4 separate regions of the Homo sapiens genome follow, and all the other regions are linked to region 2. The links are contacts of gene promoters, found by promoter capture Hi-C in blood cells and fetal thymus (Javierre and others, 2016). All regions are on one chromosome and are shown on one strand. Each heading gives the region's core, a stretch centred on a gene start or on the middle of the fragment in contact. The rest is flanking DNA. Distances are from core to core; before and after follow the strand shown.

Region 1 (2,700 bases), core at 1-2,500, 5.9 Mb before region 2:
GGGTAAGCTCGCGCCGCCGCGTCAGCTCAGCGCTGGGTCTCTCGGTCCCGCAGCCGTGAGGAGGACGGTCTGCATACTCGCTGCCCGCCGGCTCCCTCCCCCGCGTCCCTGCGACCGCCGCGGCGAAGATGGTGAGTAGGAGGGAGGCCGAGGCGTGGGCCGAGGCGGCCGGGAGCAGTGTGTCTCTGGGGCGCCGCGGAGTCGGGGCTAAGGGGGTGAGCCGTGCCTCAGCCCGGGGAGGGACCCGGTCCGGCTGCAGTGTCCGGGCTGCGGGTGAGGGGGGGTCTCTGGGCCTCCGTCTCCCGCCGTCCTGGCTGGGCCCCCGCGCCCCGGGGTGGATCCGCGGCTGTTGCGCAGCTCCCAGCTGGGGCGAGGCCGCCGCCCTGAGCGTGGCCTCTGCGGGTGTCTCCAGACCCGGCCTTGCAACAACTGGCTGGGGTCGAGCGCCCCCACCCGCTCTGTGAAATCCATCCGGGGGTCTGCACACCGAGGCCGGGGAGTGGGGGGCGGGGGGCGTCGGAATCCGGCCACCGTCCTTGTTGGCGTGGGTTTCCCCAGAGCTGGCGCTGAGGCGCTTGGTGACTTGTGCGCGTTCCAGCCCTTGAGGTCTGTCCATCTCAATAAGGAAGATAAAGCCTTTATGGAACAGTCCTAGAGCACGGAATGATCGCTAACGAGCAGGATCCTGGCATGATTTAGAACGGGGTGGCCTTGCAGCTCCTTTGTTTTTTTCTTTTTATCTGGCAATCGGCTTCCAGCAGCACTCTCGTCGTGCTTGTCAAGCTTGGCAGTGTCTGTTTTAACCCTTCCCTGCCCGATCTGTCCGTGTATGGTTAGAATTTTTTTTCTGACCTGTAGACAGTTGGACTCTGCCAGAACTTGGTGCGCAAGGTGTGGGCATGATGCTGGGATGCTGATACAACCAAATTTAAGAGCTTTAAAAACCATTAAAATACTGGAGTCACCAGAAAGTAAACAGGTGCTCATTAGTATATTCTATATGATGGACATTTTGCTTAATTTACATATTTTCCCCCTTTACACTGTCACTCTAATTAGCTATTTAAAAACGTATTCTCAACTGAACTATCAGTTGGAACATTTTGTCGTTTTCGTTAGTGTGCACACACTGTTACCATTTTTGGTCAGTGATTTGCAGGCGTAGCCTTACCAGACTTTGCTAGAAATATTACACTGTAATTGCATCTGTCTAGAAGCAGTTGGTACCAGCTTATCTGCATACAAACTGTTTTCACTGTATAACAGTTTTGGTTTTCTTAAGTTACTACAACTTCCGTGAACATGCAGGCGGCCCCTTAGTGAAAGAAAAGATAAACCGGTAGTTTCTTGATGACTGTAGATATGTATGTAATAGGGATTTGATACTGTTCAGTTTTTGGTTCTTCTTTGGTTTAATGCTGTAAGCTACAAAGTATCAGCATCTTGAGTCTTTTTAATATCTAATTATTAGAAATTTAATAACATTTTAAATGTATATGCTACTTTATACTGAAAGACTTAATCTAGGGGCTTTGAGTTATGGTACGCTTAAGACCATTCACTCTGTGAAAGTGCTTTGAAGCTGACTAGGGTCTGCTCTAGAGACTTCTGATTTGACATTATGCTTTTTTATTGAGTGGCTAATACAGACTTTATTTTTCTGTTTGAAAATAAGAGACCAAACATTTTACCTTTAGTTAAATGCTTAGTTTTAGTTAAAGCTTAACTAAATTCAAGGAAGGAAGGGTCTGTTATATTTCCTGGTTCTTGTGAGGAGTGGGAGAAATAAAAATTAGAAATGAGCGATTTCCAAATACGCTTCAAAATTGTTGGCTTTAGGGAGATCAAGAAGACCTTACAAGTTACTCTTAGAGTTCAGATTATAGACCCCCCATTTTTAAAGGTTATTTTTGTTTTTAGCCTTATGAGCGCAGGAGCATCTTTGTTTAGTTCAGTGATTAGAGAATATTGTGGGTATTATCCCAGAGTCTAGCACTTTGCTTTTAGCTCTTTTGGTTAGATGCTTGGTTCCAAGTTTCTTTTAAGATTAAATTTTAACTACCGATGGGTTTGTTCTAAATTAGCAGAATCACTTCCTTGTACTCACCAAGTCTTTTAGAAGCACCTGAAATAAAGCAGTTTGAAACCAGCTGGGCGCTTCAGGATGAGATTAGATGTTTTCAGATGTCTCCTCCAACAAAAAACAAACAACGTCTGCCTCCACGTGAACCACAATTACAGACCCCAAACAAAACGTGTGTGTGTGTGTACTGGGTGTGCCAGCCTCCTTATACAGAGATTGTTTAGTAGCCCATCATCAAGTTACTAAGGTTATTTGCTCAGTAGTTCTACTGGATATGGATTGAGACATCACACCTAGACTTGCCTAGCTCCTCTTGTAACCAGAGTATCTTTTATGCTTCTTGGAAAGTAAGAGTGTAGTCTTGCCCCTGAAGTAGAGTTAAAAGGTTTGCACGATAATCTAACCCTTAACCTTATCCTAATCTGGACTGTGGTCTCACAGACTGAACTAATTGGCGCAGTATTCAAGTATTCTAATACTTGGTGATTAGCAAAAACACTACAACCCAGTGAAATAGGTTGGGCATGTATTCACATGCCTATTTAACATATGAGAAAACAGATTGTAAAGGATTAATTGACTTGAGACAAATCACCTTTTCCAACTCCAAGTTTTAA
Region 2 (2,731 bases), core at 85-2,584:
CACATATTCAACAGCCCAGAATTCTTCCGGGCTGTCAGTGCGGGCTCTGCTTTTTGAGAGGTTGGAATTTAAAATCCTCCTTAGGAGAGCACGGAAGAATTACAGGAAATTAAAGGGATTCCCAAAGGACGCCTGACTTAAACAGCAGCAGCGTTACCGTTAATCAAACAGGAGGCTCTGGCTATCAATCAATCTCCGGAGAAGGAAAAATACTATGCTGAGAAAATATATTCGTTCATTAGTCAAGTATTTACTAAAGGTGTACTCGGCGCAAGGCCCCTGGAGAGAGGCCAACAAGCACACCAGCTCTGGATCCCTCGCCGGACCGCCCCCTCCCCGGCGGGGCCCACCTGCAGGCGGGACGCCCCCAGGTGCGCGTTCCAGGCGCCGGGGGCGGCCCCCGCACCCACCCCTCCGGCTCCACCCCGGCGCGCCTCACCCGGACCGGTCTCAGGAGCGATACGGGCTTCAGCGTGGCGAAATGCACCAATACGACTCGCTACGCACTGAGAAGGGGGCCCCACGCGCGCCCCGAGCTACCGCGCCCGCGGGCCTCAGGGAGCCGCTGACCTTCTAGGTCGTGGGACCCCCGCACCAACCCGGGCCAGGGCGAGGGGGGCGATCTGGGGTCTCCAGAGGGCGCGTGAGGCTGACAGCCCCCCCCCCAGAGTGTTCTAGGGGCTTCGTGGGGCGCTTGGGGAGCTCTGGGGGTCCTAGGGGTTCTCTGAAAGGCGCGTGGGGGCTGAGGGTCCCTGTGAGACTCTGGGGATTCTAAGGGGGCGTGTTAGGGGATCCGGAGAGCGTGTGGGGGCTGAGGAACCCTGGGGAGTTCTGCCGGCCCTAGGGGGTCTCTAAAGTGCGCGTGGGGGCTGAGAGCCCCTGGGAGGATGCGGGGTTTCCAGGGACCCTGGGGGGGCCTGTGGGGTCTCTGGAGGGCGCGTGCGGACTGAGGGCCCCTGGGCGTCCTGGGGGCTCCAGGGGGCGCTGGGGGACCCTACAGGATTTCTGGAGGGCGCCTGCAGGCTGAGGGCCCCTAGACGTGGTCTGAGGGCCCCAGAGGTTGCGTGGGGGACTCGGGGGGTCAGCCTGAAAGGAAGGGGGCCAAGTACGGAGACCCCCCCCCCCCAGGGCACGCACGGTCTGGCGCTCACCCAAACAGCCCTCGGAGGAAGGAGTGGGAGGCCTTGACTCGCTTCTCGGCCTCCGCCATCAGCTGTACTGCCTCACGCTCCTTCCCCGCGTTGTCCATGTCGCCCGCCGCGGCCGCCACAGCCCCCTCAGCCGGCTCGCTGTGCGCCCAGGCGCCTTAACCCTCCCTCTGGCGGCCGCAGGGACGCAGGCGCAGGCGCGACGCGCGAGGCCTTTCGGGAGCTGTAGTCCGGGTCCTGTCATGGCGGCGGGGATTCGCGAGCCGCCTACTACAGTTCCCAGGAGGCCCCGGGGCGGGGTGTGTGTGAGCCGAGCTTGCGCACCGCTAGCTCCCAGGACGTCGGCGCAGGGGGCGTGACCCCCCCAAAGGGGTCCTGGGCCAAGGTGAACTTTAATTTTGTATGTATGCAGAAATGGAAAAATGATCCGTGGCCTCTAGTAAAGATCACCTCCTCAGTAAGACTCGCATGGCAATGGGATGGATGAAGGAACAGGGGATAACAGATTGGATGGAACCCACACCCTTCATGCAAGTTCTGCAAAAGAGAATCTGGTGTAGCCACCAAAGCATCACATGCTTGATACCGCCCACCAAAAAACGAGCAACAGCTGGCAATAAGAGCCATTTTTATCTCCAAGAGCAAGACGTCCCCAATATAAGTTCAGTTATTTTTAAATCTCCCCAAACTGTAACTTTCTGTTGGTCCTCTCTTCCTTGGTTATAAATGAGTTGCATATATGCAATATATGCATAATCCACTCTTTTGTTGACTGAATTATATTCAATGGATGTGAACCATTGAACTCTTATCCTTTACATAATACTGGCCATAGTGGATGGATCTCCAGGGACAAAATGTTTGCCTGCCAGGAAGACTTCTAATCTCCTAGGAGAAGTATCCATAGATAGATGGGATCCTGTGCCAGAGACTTTCAGGCCTGTCCCAGAGGGAGTTATTTTTGAAGACAATGTCTAGACCATTCAAGCTTGGCAGTGCTAAGGCAGAGATGCTGAAACTAATAAGAAAATCACTGCCAAGTGAGATTTATGACAGTTTCAAACTGTTAATAAATACACTCTGGGCACTGGCATGCAAAATTTTAGAAAATGAAGACTGTCTGTAGAGGGCAAGGCAAGAGGGGCCAAACTCCTAGAAAGAAAGTTGACTAAAGCACATGTCACAGAGTTCATACATTTCAGGACTCCGTAGAGATAGAAAGAAATCTCAGCTCTTCGTGCAGTTTATTTACGATTACTACATGCATTATTCTAACTTTGAAAAGCTGAGCTGTGTGTTTTTGGAGAGAGAAGGAGGCGGGAAATTGGAGGTGACCGTAAATGCAGGGGAGACCAGAGAAAAACTGTAAAAAGTGAACATAAGCATTTGGAAAGCAGAGCAGTCTATGGGGGCTTAATGGAGTGAGGCTAAGTCAAAAGCTCCTAAGTAAATCAGTGTGTTGATTAAATCAGTTGTTCCCTAACGTGGTTCGATGCAGAAGCTCTAATGGATATTTAAGAAATACTGATTCCTAGGCCACTGGGTTTTGGTATCAAGGTCTCTTGCAGCTGGGGTCTAGAAAA
Region 3 (2,700 bases), core at 88-2,587, 5.7 Mb before region 2:
TTTGTTACAAGTCACCATTTTGATGCTGAGGGCATTGGGTAAAAAATCTCTCCAGGAAAGGGCCACTATCTGTGTGGCCCCCCTCCCACTCCTTTTTCTTGGAATGCAGTTTACAATGCACACAAAGAGGCGGGACTAATGCTTTCTCAGGGTGAGATCTTATCAGGTGAAGTGTATCAACTGCCACTAGTCAACTGGTTTTGACCTACAGAATGGGCAATTTCATGTGGTTCAACATATTACCACATGATCAAGAGGAACAGGGACATGAATGTTTACAGAATACCAGCTGCCTCTACATCAGCACTGTCTAGAACTTTCTGTGATGGTGGAAACCATCTACAGCCACGCTGACCAACTTATGACTACTGAGCACCTGAAATGTGGCTAATTTGACTCAGAAATTGAATTTTTAATTTTACTTAATTTGAATTGTTTTAAACTTAAATTGCTACTTGTGGCTACTGTATTGGACAACACAGTTCTAGACAGTAGCTTTTTCAGGCAAGAACTAGGTCTCACTTGCGGTGTTTGAAGGCCCACCACACAGGAGACCCTCGGTGAAAAAAATGAAATGAAAAATACCTTCAGCACTGCCAGATTTTCAAAATGCCTCCCCACCTTCCTGCCACTGAAGCTCTTAATTTTGATCTTCACGTTCTGTGTCCTCCCTTGGGTAATTATTGCCCCAGGAAGGTGGAGGTATATAGCCAGGAGGGAACATTTGGAAGGCCGGGCCCACATCGCCTAGCAACTGGGCAACAGGAACTGGCCTGACAACCTTCTGACCAGCTGGACCTCCACATTCTCATCCACTGAATGGGTGACAACCATTCCCACCCCCTAGAACAGGGTTATTTTAAGGCCTAAATGTAAACCACAGTTGTGGAATCTGATTCTAAAAAGTGAACCTTAAAAACCAAGTTGGGCTAAGCTTCATTTATCCAATGAGACAGCTGGGAATAGTTTAACAGGTATGGGGGCGCTGTCCGCCTGGTATAACCAATATTTATGATGTTATAGGCCAGGCCTTAACCACTGCAGGCCCAGCATGCACAGACGGACAGCACAGTCCCTGCCTTCATCATTCTGACTTGACCATTATTTTTGTTTCTCCTGAAACAAGATTTTAGCAAAGAAAAACTTGCTGTCTCAACAGAACTGTTGATCCTCTATGTGTCATTCATCTATTAGTTAAAATTCCCAGGGCTAAAAAGACAAGAAGAGTCTGGGGTCCCGACACTTTTAAAAGGTGTCCCTGCTACATAATAAATCAATACTCCAATTCAATCACTGGCATTCAACCATTTAAACTGAGTTTGCTGCTATGTAATTATTGCAGCCTGTTGAGTTAGGGCTCATTTCATTAAAGAGCATAATTGCTCAAATGTGACTTGATTTAAGATTTATTTAAAACTCTTCCATCACCAAAAAATACTCATATACCATGAACCACTGTAACTTCTTAATCTCTCTGTAAATGTTCAGAGGCAGATTCCTAAGTATGAAAGGTGAGAGTTGTTATAGTGCCTAGAGCTCTAAACCCTCTCCTAAACCCCAAGATCCCTTTCTGGTTTCCCCTCCCCCAACCTTAGCCTCCTCCAGGCCTCCACTGGCCCAAGATCCCTGCAAGCCGGCTTTGCGGTGCTCCATGTAAAAGGAAAACTTCACCTACTAGGAGGTCTGCCCCGGCCTTTGCTTCAACAGAGAGGGAAATGGCACCTCCAGGACCTCAGAACCGGAAGCTTCTTTCTGGAAGGGAAAGAGGTTGGCATATGATAGTGGGAGTGACCTTTGGCAAGTTCGTAAACGAGTCAAGACATCACACAGTAAGTGACATGCTGCAGGGTCACAGATTTCTCTAGGTGTCGGATTAACAGGAAGTTAAATCAAACAAGGAGTGTGAGGAGGGAGGCGGGGCAGTGGGAGAATGCCCCCCAGCTGCACAGGGCGGGGTAACATTCGCAGTTGTTCTTCCTGGGAGTGCCAGACAGACGTCCTGGGTCTCTGGGGACACCCAGTTCTGAAGAGGTATCTAATGTGAGATATGAGGCCCTACCAGGCCCATTTCTCCAAATTCCTGAAAATGCCATCCAGATGGCCCCTACCCTGAAGGTTCCAGCACGCAGAGTGAATAGCTGAGCAGTGACGTGGGAGGCTCCTCAGGTCCCTCAGAGTTTCATTTCCTTGGTGCTTCCCAGTCTCTCCTAACCTCTGACCTCTCAGAGTAATTGCCAAATTGCCTTCTGTTTGTACAAGGTCCCAGCACTTCCCGGCGTGGTTCCCGACCCTGTGAGTGGGTGGTGCTGTCTTCAGGCCACAGATAAGAAACTAGGATTCAGAGGGGCTATGGGACCTGCGAGTAGGCGGCCAGTACGTGGTCCGGGGTGTAGAACCCCGGCTGTGCAACTTCTGCAGCCCCGCGCCCGCCGCAGTGCCGGAGCCAGGCCCCACCTTCCTCCCGTGTCCAGCACCCCCCAACAAAAGCATCCCAACTGAACAGCCAACACTTGTGGCTCCTTCCTACAAGTGCTGGGTCTCCACAGCTTTCCTCGCAAATCGAAGCTAACAGGAGCCCCGATTTGCAGACCAGGAAATGGAGACCCCGAACGAAACAACTTGGTCGGGGTCACCCTCGCCAGCCGGGGCACTCTAGAGCTAAAACTCGCGACTTATCATTCGGAGAGGGGTCCCTGAAGC
Region 4 (2,700 bases), core at 16-2,515, 5.5 Mb before region 2:
AAGTCCAACATTTTATCACCCACCAGCTACCAAGTATCTAACAGCACAATGTCCTAGCTCTGCGGTGCTCTTGAAAGAAAAAGTGAAAACCCTGACAAGGGAGCCATCTGGATTTGTATTCCTCACCATTTACCATGACTAGAATGCTTAGGAGTGTGCCCTTCAGAAACTGAGCTTTTCAGGCAGAAAATTAGTTTTCTCTCCAGACCATATAGGAATGCCTAAAAAAGTTATGCCAAAATGTAAAAAGAAGAGTCAAGCCAAGGACCCCCATTTTTAAACTTAAGTGTTGGCTGCCCCTCAAACTGCAACTTACTCCTCCTGGGGTACTATGGTTTGCCTTTAGGCAGCATGTGAAGGTGTGAAGATCTCTTTTAGGAGATCTTGTCAGAGTACCTCAATGGCCAATCAGAAAACAGGTATTAAGGGTGAAGAAGCCACTTTTTGGAAAGTTAGATCATGCAGAGAAACTTAATTTACACTTTAATAGCCGTTTCTCACTATTGGGATCATTAAAAGTTAGACTGTTTCCTTAAATACTATTTAACTTCACTACACACTGTTGTGACCACGGGCTATTTAAGACATTCAGGGTACTAACCTATAGATCTGTTCTCACCTAATTTGCTCGAGCATCAAGACCCTGATAATAAAGACAGAAAAATGCTGAAACAGCAGAATTTTAAACCAAGTTCCCCTCTGCAGCACAAGAAACTCAGGTAAGTTTCCAGTGTCCAAAGCCTACACTCACAAACACAAACACGAAGCCCTCCCTTTGCAACCCTCAAGTACCCAGAACCTGCTGAAGAAAACCATCTTTCACCACCTTTTGTTAAGGTTCCTCAGTATTAGTGGAAAAGCTTTATTCTCACAAAGATATCCAACAATGCTAATTTTTACATGGCATGTTATTTCCTTAGGCAAGATTAATAGAAAACCTGAAAAATTCGCAACAAGCACACAAAGACTAGCTTCTGTAACACAACCTGACCCCACCCATATCACACCATTTTAGAAGGAAGTCCGTTTAAACCAGTGATTCTCAAACAGGCAATTTTGACTTCTTATCACCATGGGAGGGGAGGAGGCCGCGTCCTAGCAGAGGCCAAAAACAGTTGCTTCACATCCTACAACCCAGAGGGCACTCCTCAACAAAAGTGATCAGGCTAAAATGTCAACAGTGCTCCCCAGGTTGAGAAACTGAATTTTAAACTCAACCTCTAGTTTAGATGACCACTAGGTCTCACCGAATGAGGAGTTTACAGCTCAGAAACAAATCTAGAAAACTTAACAGCCTTGGCCAAGCACAATGGCTCATGCCTGTAATCCCGGCATGTTGAACTGGATGGTGAAACCCCATCTCTACCAAAAAATACAAAAATTAGGTGGGCATGCTGGTGTGTGCCTGTAGCCCCAGCTACTCAGGAGGCTGAGGTGGGGGTGATCACCTGAGCTCCCCAGGTCGAGGCTGCAGTGAGTTGTGATCGTGACACTGCACTCCCGCCTGGGTGACAGAGCCAGACCCTGTCTCAAAAAAAAAAAAAAAAAAGCCTCTTGGCCATTTCTACCTATGGCCAAAATAATGTGAACAGATAATGACCTTTTAGAGTATTCACAAATGGGGATCTTAAGACACCGAGTACAAGTTACTGAACTAGAACTAAGGCGTGGGAAGCTTGATACGTCATACTTCCTCAACTTAGAAAATAGTTGCAAGGGTAGCATAAAGCTTCAGTCCACAAAGTTTGTAAGTTTGGACTTGCTATGGTATTGGTCAAAGTTCAGGATTGTTCCTATACTAACCAACTGCACTCCATTCTAGCTAATGGAGAACAAAAATACCCCTAGAGGCAGCTTCCACACCAGTTAAACACGAAACCAGAGCAGCAGTACTTAGTCTACAAACACTCCTGAGTAGGTAAGAGGACAGATATCATTCACCAAAGTCCCTGTAACCAAGCAGTAAGTTAAGGCCAAGTTGTTACTGTCAAGGAAGGAGAACCCCCTAGTTAAAAATAGCACTAGGCTGCGAAGGTCGAGTTCAAATACCAGCCTGGCCAACATGGTGAAACCCGGTCTCCACAAAAATACAAAAATTAGCCGGGCATGGCGGTGAGCGACTGTAATCCCAGCTACTTGAGAGGCTGAGGCAGGAGAATCGCTTGAACCCAGAAAGCGGAAGTTGCAGTGAGCTGAGATCGAGCCATTGCGCTCCAGCCTGGACGACAGAGCGAGACTCCGTCTCAAAAAAAAAAAAAAAATCAAAAACCAGTAAATAGAGGACCAGTTAGGAACCAAATTAACCATGCATCTCTTCCCCTGAACTATTTTCTGAGGAAGAAGGCAAACCCCAACACCCTCGGCTAAAGAATGTAACAAAATGCCAGTGTCTGGCTACCAGACACGACTGACACAGTATTCCCTTTCAGTTTTGCTGAATTGGCCAAAATGAGTATTGGGCTAGAATTCAAAATCCTGAAGAATCAAGTATGTCCCCCTACCTTAGTGAGTCTTAATTAACTCCATCCTTAGGGAGAATTCCAAACCAAAGTAAATTATCAGGAGGGCATTTAAACAATTTAAGTAACACACATTTCAGGTAACACACAAAACATTTCAGTTGACTACCGAAATTGTATTATGGCAAAAAGTTGCCCAAGACTTAGTTTCCCATTATTTCATACTTGCCCCAAACTCCCT

What was found. Contacts are between HindIII fragments. The CHiCAGO score rates a contact against its expected background, and 5 or more counts as called.
Region 1: a contact is called between a fragment that was not itself captured here and the fragment with the promoter of NAPB in region 2, in 1 of 17 cell types (total CD4 T cells). The highest score is 6.5, in total CD4 T cells.
Region 3: a fragment that was not itself captured here is called in contact with the fragment with the promoter of NAPB in region 2 in 3 of 17 cell types (activated CD4 T cells, naive CD4 T cells and non-activated CD4 T cells); the score reaches 6.8 in activated CD4 T cells.
Region 4: a fragment that was not itself captured here is called in contact with the fragment with the promoter of NAPB in region 2 in 1 of 17 cell types (activated CD4 T cells); the score reaches 11.1 in activated CD4 T cells.

The regions. Positions count from the first base shown.
Region 1 is chr20:17,570,081-17,572,780 of GRCh38, forward strand. It overlaps DSTN (destrin, actin depolymerizing factor), which reads left to right. Exons shown (of 4, transcript NM_006870.4): 1 at 1-131. The coding sequence starts at 129. Among named protein-coding and RNA genes, the nearest start is that of DSTN, 1.4 kb to the left of the region's middle. RefSeq lists silencers at 1-125, 146-435. The HindIII fragment of the contact is 938 bases long and covers 782-1,719 here.
Region 2 is chr20:23,420,154-23,422,884 of GRCh38, forward strand. NAPB (NSF attachment protein beta) reads right to left here and starts at 1,335. Exons shown (of 11, transcript NM_022080.3): 1 at 1,152-1,335. The coding sequence starts at 1,249. RefSeq lists silencers at 324-553, 1,184-1,273 and an enhancer at 1,524-1,713. The HindIII fragment of the contact is 2,788 bases long and covers 1-2,134 here.
Region 3 is chr20:17,678,324-17,681,023 of GRCh38, forward strand. It overlaps RRBP1 (ribosome binding protein 1), which reads right to left. Exons shown (of 25, transcript NM_001365613.2): 2 at 1,676-1,752. Among named protein-coding and RNA genes, the nearest start is that of RRBP1, 2.6 kb to the right of the region's middle. RefSeq lists enhancers at 1,213-2,412, 2,604-2,700. The HindIII fragment of the contact is 811 bases long and covers 933-1,743 here.
Region 4 is chr20:17,964,140-17,966,839 of GRCh38, forward strand. All of the region lies in intron 1 of SNX5 (sorting nexin 5), which reads right to left. Among named protein-coding and RNA genes, the nearest start is that of SNORD17, 2.5 kb to the left of the region's middle. RefSeq lists an enhancer at 2,071-2,150. The HindIII fragment of the contact is 815 bases long and covers 859-1,673 here.